Linked DNA regions of Homo sapiens: region 1 is linked to region 2. The links are contacts of gene promoters, found by promoter capture Hi-C in blood cells and fetal thymus (Javierre and others, 2016). All regions are on one chromosome and are shown on one strand. The core of a region is centred on a gene start or on the middle of the fragment in contact, and the rest is flanking DNA. Distances in the headings are between cores, read along the strand shown.

Region 1 (3,837 bases), core at 1-2,500, 540 kb before region 2:
TCATCATCAGAAAGGGGGCTCCCTGCAGCTGCTCAGCCCGAAGCAGGGCTCACACTTTTGAAGGTGGTTTCTCCTCTGCCTTGGAGCCAGGCAAGCCGTTCTCCGTGTTGTCATTCCCCGAGGAGCTCACGAGACACTCCTTCCTGGAGAGGGAGAGAGAAGGGACAGTGGTGAGGAGAGGAGCAAGAGTAGGGGGAGAATTGTGGCAGGAGCCGTGGGCCCTGCACCCAGCCCTGTGCCTCTCCCTGGCCTTCTACAGAGCTAAGGTAGCCAGAGGCCATGTCACCTAACCTCTCTGTACCTCAGTCCCCTCATTTGTGAAATAGAGGTAGGGATGACCTTCTGCGTGGGGTTGCTGGAAGGAGAAATGAGCACTTAGAACAGTGCCTGCCATGTAGAAAGTTCTCAACTGGCCAGGTGCGGTGGCTCACACCTGTAATCCCAGCACTTTGGGAGGCCGAGGCAGGCAGATCACTTGAGGTCAGGAGTTCGAGACCAGCCTGGCCAACATGGCAAAACCCCATCTCTACTAAAAATACAAAAATTAGCCAGGCGTGGTGGCAGGCGCCTATAGTCCCAGCTACTAGGGAGGCTGAGGCAGGAGAATCGCTTGAACCTGGGAGGCGGAGGTTGCAGTGAGCTGAGATCGTGCCACTGCACTCCAGCCTGGGCAACAGAGCGAGACTCTGTCTCAAACAAAGAAAAAAAGAAAGTTCTCAATAAAGCTTAGCTGTCACCTAGTTGTCTCAACATGGCAGGAAGCAAAGGGCACCAGGTGCTGTTCTCAGGGGTCAGTTCCCAGGCTGTGCCACGCCAGGGGGAGGGGTCCAGGCCAGCAAGGAGTATGCTGAGGACACAGAGTCCCTCTCCCCAGGGCCCCCCAGGCCTTCCTCCCTGAGCTCTCCGTGACTAGAGGTATTAAGGGAAGAACAGAGTCCATGGAAGGGGCAGAGCAGGCAGTGGGTTTGGCTTCAAGGGTGACAGGTCTAGGCAGAGTTTGGTGGGACGGAGCAGAAGACAGGAGGAAGGAGAGATGGTGAGATGGGAAGACACCTCCCGGGAGGCGTTCCACCCTGACCGCTCTGAGCTGGACATGCTCCAACTTCAGTGTGTCCCTCCTCCACAGCAGCGCCCAGGCTGGGCACACAGAACTCCCCAGGGAGCACCTGCATCCCTCTGAGCTTTCTGCTCATGAAAATGGCCAAGTTTTTCACAGCTGCTACAGCCAAACTACATCCTACCCTCACCCTGGGCTTGGGCAGCTGGGTTTGAGGCCTTTGGGAAGGACTGAATATTTTGTCCTCATTAATTTCATCTTGCAATACCTAGTTCCTAGCTCCAGCCTATCAAGATCTTCCTAGATCCCTTTTTCTTCCAACATAGTTACTAGGCTTCTGGAAGTTGATAAATGTGACATCCCTAGTGTACTTCAAATGTTAGTAATAACAATGAACAGGTGGAGCCCTGTGGAATACACTAAAGACCTCTATTCGGATGGATCCATCTCTCTCTCTCTGTCTCTCTCTCTTTCTTTCTTTCTGTCTCTGTACCTAAGGCATAGTTAACCCAGCCAATTACGACCCACCGAACTGTATTCCACGCAGTCCATAATTCTCTACTGAGAACCTACTGGGTACCAGGCACTGTGTCGGAAACGTGCACTCTCCTAGGGCATGTGACATTAAACAAGTGATTGTGACACACTGTGGTAAATAACAGGATGGGGGATGTAGGAAGGAGGGACCCAACCTAGGAAGCCTCCTCATAGGAGTCAGGGAAGCTTTTTGGAAGTATACCTTAAACTTCCAAGCTTCTTTGAAACCAAGAAAGATGAGCAGGAAAAGAGAGAGGGTAAATTCCAGACAGAGGAAACAGCACCCACGTTTCAGAATCAATGGTGAGATGTTGTCCAGTACCTCCCTGTTCTTGAGAAGCCACTGTCTCTGCTGTAATGCAGGCATTCCCCGCCACTCCAAGGACCTCCCTCAGGCTTCCCTACGGTCTGTCCCCTGCCCCCAGGCTCTTCCACCCAATCCCTCCGCCCACCATGGCCAGATCCTTTCTTCTGTGCTCTCTGATCGTGCCAGGGCCCTGCAAGCCCTCGCCAGCTCCCCTGCCGTCGGAAGTCAATCACAGCCTCGACTCCCAGGTCCCCAAGTGTCTGTCCCCAACCCCTTCTGCAGGCTTTTATTCTCCTCCCCACCACCTCACCATACAGCTCTCTCAACAAACAAAAGGCTTGTTCTCCAGACAAGCCCACTTCCCAGACTCTCTGCCTTGGCTCTCAGTGGTGCCTCCATCTGGAAGAATCTTCCCTTTACTCTCCCCAGGGCTTAAGTTATATTAATCTTGCAAGGCCTGCCACAAACACCCATTCAGCCAGAAATCCTTCCCAGAATTTCACCCTGCCCTGAACCCCCACAGCAGCATCGTATCAAACCTCTTTGCTGGCACTGATCCCCTCTACCTTGTATTACATTTATTTGTATACACATTTATTTGTATCTTGTCTTCTTTAGTTAAAGGCAGAATCTCATTCCTTCCATAATTTCCTATAGCATCTGGCACAGTGCCTCAAAAACAGCCACAAAATGAACAGATAAATGAATGAACTCTAGATATGCCCAGTGAGTCAGTAGAACATCCTGGCAATGGTTTAAGCTTTGAAGCCAAATTAGTCACAGTTCAAATCCCAGCTCTATCACTTACTAGCTGTGTGGCCTTGGGCAAGTCACTTCACTACTCTGAGCCTCACTTTGCTCAATTGTAAAATAATAATTATGGGTAGTGTATAAAATTGCCTGGTGGAATTCCTAACATATGGTAGGCATTTGATGAATGACAGGAAGTGGTATTTTCCAGAGCAATCTCCTGTTCTGCCAGTGCCTTATCAGGAGACATCTAGCATTCCTTTTTTTTTTTTCTTTTTTCTTTTTTTTTTTAAGAGACGAGCTCTTGCTAAGTTGCCCAGGCTGGACTCAAACTCCTGGGCTCAAAGCATCCTCCTGCCTCAGCCCCCCAGGGAGCTGGGACTTCAGGCACACACATCCAGCTTAGCATGTCTTGTTTTTGATGAACCCACTGTGGCTCTGAAGGACCACCGTTGTCTTTTCTAAGTGCTTTTAAACCATATATTGACAAATTTGTTCTCCATCCATTGATAGTAAGACTGGTTATGAAAAACAGAACCTAATTAAGCTCCACGCTTTTAGCCCCTCTCACGATCACCAAAACCCTCACAGCCTCTGGCCACAAGGCAGGCAGACAACCCTTGAGCTCTTCATCGACAACCCAGTTCTGGGGTCCTCCCCTGCTCCCCAGCCCCAGCGCTGCTACCTGTATGGCCCCTCCCTACCTCCAACTTCCATCCCCTCTTTCTAGAGTAAGTTCTGCCCTTTACAGCAGAATTCCCTCTTCTCAGCAGAGCAGAATGTTTCAGCAAATAGGGGCAGAGGAGTTCTCCATTCTCTGCATCTCGTGGTTACCATCACCCTCTCTGTTCCAATGGGAAGCCATCTCGTCGCATCTGTCTTGCTCAGAACACAACTTTCAAATGCCTTTTCCCTGCTCTAGTTTTGCAAGATTCACCACATGCTGCTCTGGAGCCTGTCTGATACTGTTCCAAAAATTTGGGGCCTGAGGGTTGCACCCTCCGTACCTCCCCCATCTTCCCTCCCCTTCCCCTTATAGATGTCTATTTTTATACCTGAACTTATCCTAGGGCTCCCTGGGAGGCCATATCTGCCTTTTCAAACTTTTAAAACATCACCTCCATCTGAATTTTCAGAAATTCCTAACAGAAGAATTTTGTTCCCATCTCCCTAGAAGAGTTTTCTC
Region 2 (6,103 bases), core at 2,692-5,191:
TTGTTTGTTTGTTGAGACAGGGTCTCACTCTGTCACCTAGGCTGGAGTGCAGTGGTGCAATCTCAACTCACTGCAACCTCCACCTCCCAGGTCAATGATTCTCACGTCTTAGCCTCCTCAATAGCTGGGATTACAGGCATGCACCACCACACCCTGCTAATTTTTGGCATTTTTGGTAGAGACAGGGTTTCACCATGTTGGCCAGGCTGCTCTCAAATGCCTGGCCTCAAGTGATCCATCCACCTCGGCCTCCCAAAGTGTTGGGATTACAGGCATGAGCCACTGTGCCCAGCCTACTTACCAGGACTTTGAAGTCCAGAGTTTTTATTGGGGTTTCATGACATACGCATGATTGATTGAATCATTGATCATGTAATTGAACTCCATCTCCAGCCCCTTCTCCTCCCTGAAGGTTGAGAAGTTGGGCTGATATCATGTGGACCAAAACCCCAACCCTCTACACACATGCTTGGCCTTTCTGGCACGGCCTGCCTTCATGTGGAGTCGTCTTGTTAGCAGAAGCTGTCTAGGGACCCACCATAAGTCACCTCATTAACAAAAGCTACCAAGAGCCTGGGAAACATGGCAAAACCCCATCTCTACAAAAAATACAAAAATTAGCCAGGCATGGTGGCACACACCTAGTCCTAGCTATTCAGGAGGCCAAGGTGGGAGGATCACCTAAGCCCAGAGAGATTGAGGCTGCAGTGAGCCATGACTGCACCACTGCACTCCAGCCTGGGTGACAGAGTGAGACCCTGTCTCAAAAAGCAATCAGGCCAGGTGCAGTGACTCATGCCTGTAATCCCAGCACTTTGGGAGGCCAAGGTGGGTGGATTGCTTGAGGTCAGGAGTTTAAGACCAGCTGGCCAACATGGTGAAACCCCGTCTCTACTAAAAATACAAAAATTAGCCAGGCGTGGTGGTGCGTGCCTATAGTCCCAGCTACTTGGGAGGCTGAGGCAGGAGAATCACTTGAACCCTGGGGGCAGAGGTTGCATTGAGCCAAAATGCTCACCACTGCACTGCCAGCCTGGGCAACAGAGCTAGATTGCTGTCTCAAAAAAAAAAAGAAAGAAAAAAACAACAACAAAAAAACACTAATCAGGGACCACTATTAATAACAGACATTCCTATCACTTGGGAGATTCCAAGGAGCTTAGAGGTTACTTTGGAGGAACCCAAGACAAAAATGAAACTAATTCCTCATTATACAAGAAGTGGCTTATACATGAAAGGATTGACTCAGCAGGTCTGCTGTGTTCAAACCCTGCACATTTCAGAGAAAATTCTGGCCTGTGACCAGCCCTGAGAGATGAGATTTAAATTACCAAAATATGCTGCCTGATAAGTCTTTGTTTTTCTGGGGCCTTGGGCCATGCCAGATATTTGATGCTAATAATGTGATTTGTGGCAGGGGCCTTTGGCCGCCCAGTATCAGTTTGAACTCTGGAGAGTGAGTAACTGAGGTCAGCCACACAGGTAGTCCACGCTTTCATCACTGACCTCCAATAAAAACACTGGACACCAAGACTCAGGTGAGCTTTTGTGATTGGCAATACTTCATGCGTGCTGTCACATGTTATTGCTGGAAAAATCAAGTCCTGTCCATATAAATCCACTGGGAGAGGAAAAACTGGAAGATTGAGATTATTTTCTCCTGGACTTGGCCCTAGAATATTTCACCTTTGATGGCTTTAACATGTATCTTTTCACTGTAAGAAACCATAATCAAGGCTGGGCACGGTGGTTCATGCCTGTAATCCCAGCACTTTGGGAGGCTGAGGCAGGCGGATCACAAGGACAAGAGATTGAGACCATTCTTGCCAACATGGCAACACCTCTGTCTCTACTAAAAATACAAAAATTAGCTGGGCGTGGTGGCAGGTGCCTGTAGTCCCAGCTACTGGGGAGGCTGAGGCAGGAGAATCGCTTGAACCCAGAAGGTGGAGGTTGCAGCGAGCCGAGATTGCACCACTGCACTCCAACCTGGCGACAGAGCGAGACTCTGTCTCAAAAAAAGAAAAAAAATGAAACCATAATCATGGTATAACCATTTGGAAGTGTTAGTGAATCACTGGCCTGAGGTTGGTCTTAGGGAACACCAGTAAAGTCATCTTCCCCTACATTTGGCAAACAGCCTAATGCTTGACAAAGCACTGGACCACCCAGCCTCTCTGAAGTCCTCATTACAATTGCTCAGGACAAAACCTATTAATTATCCCAGGTACACTTTTCCCCTTTATATTCCACAATTGTCATGGGCAAGCACTGTCAACTCTCCCTGTAACACACACCCTCTATTGAACCCCTTGTCTCTGTCTCTAGTCTAACCACTGGAACCCAAGCCCAAACCTTGTTGCCTGGAGCCCCGCTCTCCCCGGACCTGTTCCCACTCTGCCCCAATCACACAGGCCTTCGTCCCAATCCCTGAACAGTGCGTCAGGGCCTCTGCATGGCCCTTTCCATGCCTGGACTGTCCTCTCCCAGATCAGCTCAGCAATGGTTCCTGCCACAATTCTGCTTACACATCACCTCCTCAGAGACACCGTCCCTCCCCATCCTCTCTAACACACCCTCTGCTCACCCACACCAGCGGGCCCTAACTTCTCTCTACTTCAAACTGTGCTTCTGTTACTGTTTTGCTTCTATTATTATTATTATTATTATTTGAGATAGAGTTTTGCTCTTGTTGCCCCGACTGGAGTGCAATGGCATGATCTTGGCTCACTGCAACCTCCACATCCCAAGTTCAAGCGACTCTCCTGCCTCAGCCTCCCGAGTAGCTGGGATTACAGGCGTGCGCCACCATGCCCGGCTAATTTTGTATTTTTCATAGAGATGGGGTTTCACCATGTTGGCCAGGCTGGTCTCGAACTCCTGACCTCAGATGATAGCTCCCACCTTGGCCTCCCAAAGTGCTGGGATTACAGGCATGAGCCACCGTGCCCAGCTGTTTTTCTTCTATTATTATTGTTCTTGCAGGAGCTGGTAAAGTGGCTGATGTGGCCACAGCTCCATAAATCCATGTGGAACGAAGGGTGGACATCGCCTGAGTCCAGGAGACAGGACAGGGTCACTCATCTCTGTCCCTGGTGATGGAAACTCAGGCTCAGGAAAGAGCCTTGACCTGCCCTGGGTCACAGAGAGAATATGAGGGTCAGGGCTCAAGCCCAAGTGCTGTCTTCAGGCCCTTAGGCTGCCTCTCACACCCAGACTAGGAAGCTGGAGCAGAAAGTTTGCTAGAACAATCCTGAGAAGAGGCCTGCACAGTTCAAGGGGCAGCTTGGAGGAGGAGAGGAAGGGAGGGCGGGCTCTGGCCAGCAGGCTCTTGGACCTCAGGCCAGGCTCTGGCAGCTGCGTCTGGTATCAGGACTGCAGGTCCCGACAGGGGGCGGTGGCTCACGCTTGTATTCCCAGCACAGTCGCCAAGCCTAATGTCCCTTCCAACGGTGGAAAATTTTGGTAAAAATCAATGACAGGCTGGGCGTGGTGGTGCATGCCTGTGATTCCAGCTACTCAGGAGGCTGAGGCACGAGAATCTCTCGAACCCGGGAGGTCTAGGCTGCAGTGAGTGGAGATGGTGCCACTGTACTCCATCTGGACGACCGAGCAAGACTCTAACAACAACAACAAAAAAAACGGACTGCAGGTGCAGTGCCCAGCACAGAGCCTGCTACATAGGAATTCTCATTTTCTTCTCTTCCCTACTCTTTCCTTCCTTTATAATCTCTTCCTTTCCCTCTGAAGTACCGACCCCAGAGCTTGAGATCTCATCCCAGCCTCCCTCTTATTGCCATCCTCCCCTGCTGCCTTCCCCACACCCCTACCTCTCACAGGGTGGGGGTAGGGCCTCCTGGGACCCCAGTCCCAGCCCCAGCAGCAGTAGCAGGCACAGCTCCCAGGTCCTCCCTGGCATGGTGGCTGTGACTGTGACTGAATGAGCAAGCCCAGGCACCTTCGGCTTGCTGGGCACAGCCTGGCTCACCTGCCTGTCCAAGTCGGCCAAAGTCCAGCCTTTGAGGCGTGGCCACCTGAGGGGACGTGTGCTTGGTCTGTGTGTGGCCCGCTTGCCCCTCCTGCTCTCAGGGCACAGTGGCCACCTCCCTTGCTTCTACTTTGCCTCTTCTATTTCACAGTCTCAGCTGGTGCCAATGGCTCAGGCCCTTCCCTCAGAGCATGGTGGTGGGGGTGGGGAGTGGGCACCCAAAGGCCAGGGACACAGTCGAGGCCACACACCTGTAACCTGGATGCCAGGTTCCTTGGGTGGCCCCAAGACCACCAACCTCAGAGAGTTACCATTTCCCTTAACATTTCAAATGGAATGGCTCAAGATCCTGTCCCTGGTGTGGTGTGAAATTCAGGGCCTCTCACTGTTATCTGCAAGAGATACAGCGGAAGCACAGGACAGTAGAACCATTCTGTCTGGGGAGGACTAAGGGAGACCCACAATAGTGTGTCATTTGTAATGAGTCTTTTTTTTTTTTTTTTTGAGACTGAGTCTCACTCTGTCGCTAGGCTGGAGTGCAGTGGCGTGATCTCAGCTCACTGCCACCTCCGCCTCCCGGGTTCAAGCAATTCTCCTGCCTCAGCATCCTGAATAGCTGGGACTACAGGTGCCCGCCACCACGCCCAGCTAATTTTTGTATTTTTAGTAGAGACGGGGTTTCACTGTGTTGGCCAGGATGGTCTCAATCTCTTGACCTCATGATCTGCTCGCCTTGGCCTCCCAAAGTGCTGGGATTACAGGCGTGAGCCACTGCGCCAGTCCTAATGAGTCTTGATGACCGCATAGGAGTTTGCCAAGGGAAATGGGCTGGAGACCACTACAATGTATGCAGAGCATGTGAAGAGAAGAGCAAACCCCTCAGCCTAGCTGCAGAGAACTTGGTGTTCATGCAGGGAAGGGTTTTGAGATAGACTGGAGGAACATGTTGGCACCAGTCTGGAAATGGTCTTTGCCAAGCCAAGGAATGTAATTCCTTGTAATTCCCCAAAGTGGAACCAGCAGAGAAGTTTGTGAGCTTAAGAAGCAGATTCAGGCTGGGTGCAGTGGCTCATGCCTGTAATCCCACCACTTTGGGAGGCCGAGGCGGGTGGATCACCTGAGGTCAGGAGTTCAAGACCAGCCTGGCCAACATGGTGAAACCCCGTCTCTACAAAAATACAAAAATTAGCTGGGCATGATGGCGGGTACCTGTAATCCCAGCTCCTCAGGAGGCTGAGGTGGGAGAATCGCTTGAACTCGGGAGACAGAGGTTGTAGTGAGCCGAGATCATGCCACTGCACTCCAGCCTGGGCGACAGAGTAAGTCTCTGTCTCAAAAAAAAAAAAAAAAAAAAAAAAGCAGATTCGGTTACTTTAGGAGGCTCATCCCCTCAACATATGGAAGGTGAGCTGAAGGGACAGGGGACAGGGGGTGGGCAAGGCACATGGAGTTTAATGATAGGCATGACCTCTCCTGAAGGACTTAGGTTTGCAGTTAAGGATGTCAGTTGTGGCACCTGAGCAGTGTTTACTGCTATTAAAAAGAAAAACCTTAGACAAATTAAATTTAACCATTTATTCAAGCAAAGAAATGACTCATGAATCAGGCACCACTCTGAACTAGTAAAGGTTCAGATAGCTCCACCCAGTAATGTGGGCAGCTGGCATTGTTTTTTTTGTTTGCTTTGTTTTTTGAGACAGGGTCTCGCTCTGTTGCCCAGGCTGGCATGCAGTGGCTCCATCACAGCTCACTGCAGCCTTGATCTCTCAGGTTTAAGGGATTCTCCCACCTCAGCCTCCTGAGCAGCTGGGACCACAGGCACATGCCACCACGCCCAACTAATTTTTAAATTAAAAATAATTTTTTTTTTTTTAGAGATTGGGTCTCCCTATGTTGTCCAGGCTGGTGTGGAACTCCTGAGCTCAAGCAATCCTCCTGCCTCATCCTCCCAATGTATTGGGATTACAGGTGTGAGCCACCATGCCTGGTCAACAATTTTTAAGTGTACAATTCAATTTCCTTTTATTACATTCACAATGCTGTGCAACCACCCTTGCATTCTTTGGATAAATCTCACTTGGTCATGATGTCTAATCCTTTTAATAAACTGTTGGT

The links. The method cuts DNA at HindIII sites, captures the fragments that hold promoters and counts their contacts. A CHiCAGO score of 5 or more calls a contact.
Region 1: a fragment that was not itself captured here is called in contact with the fragment with the promoter of TREH in region 2 in 2 of 17 cell types (non-activated CD4 T cells and naive CD4 T cells); the score reaches 5.3 in non-activated CD4 T cells.

The regions. Positions count from the first base shown.
Region 1 is chr11:118,136,978-118,140,814 of GRCh38, forward strand. It overlaps SCN4B (sodium voltage-gated channel beta subunit 4), which reads right to left. Exons shown (of 5, transcript NM_174934.4): 5 at 1-143. The coding sequence ends at 50. Among named protein-coding and RNA genes, the nearest start is that of SCN4B, 14 kb to the right of the region's middle. The HindIII fragment of the contact is 1,055 bases long and covers 724-1,778 here.
Region 2 is chr11:118,675,709-118,681,811 of GRCh38, forward strand. TREH (trehalase) reads right to left here and starts at 3,942. Exons shown (of 15, transcript NM_007180.3): 1 at 3,831-3,942. The coding sequence starts at 3,919. RefSeq lists enhancers at 3,172-3,833, 3,834-4,493. The HindIII fragment of the contact is 8,736 bases long and covers 1-6,103 here.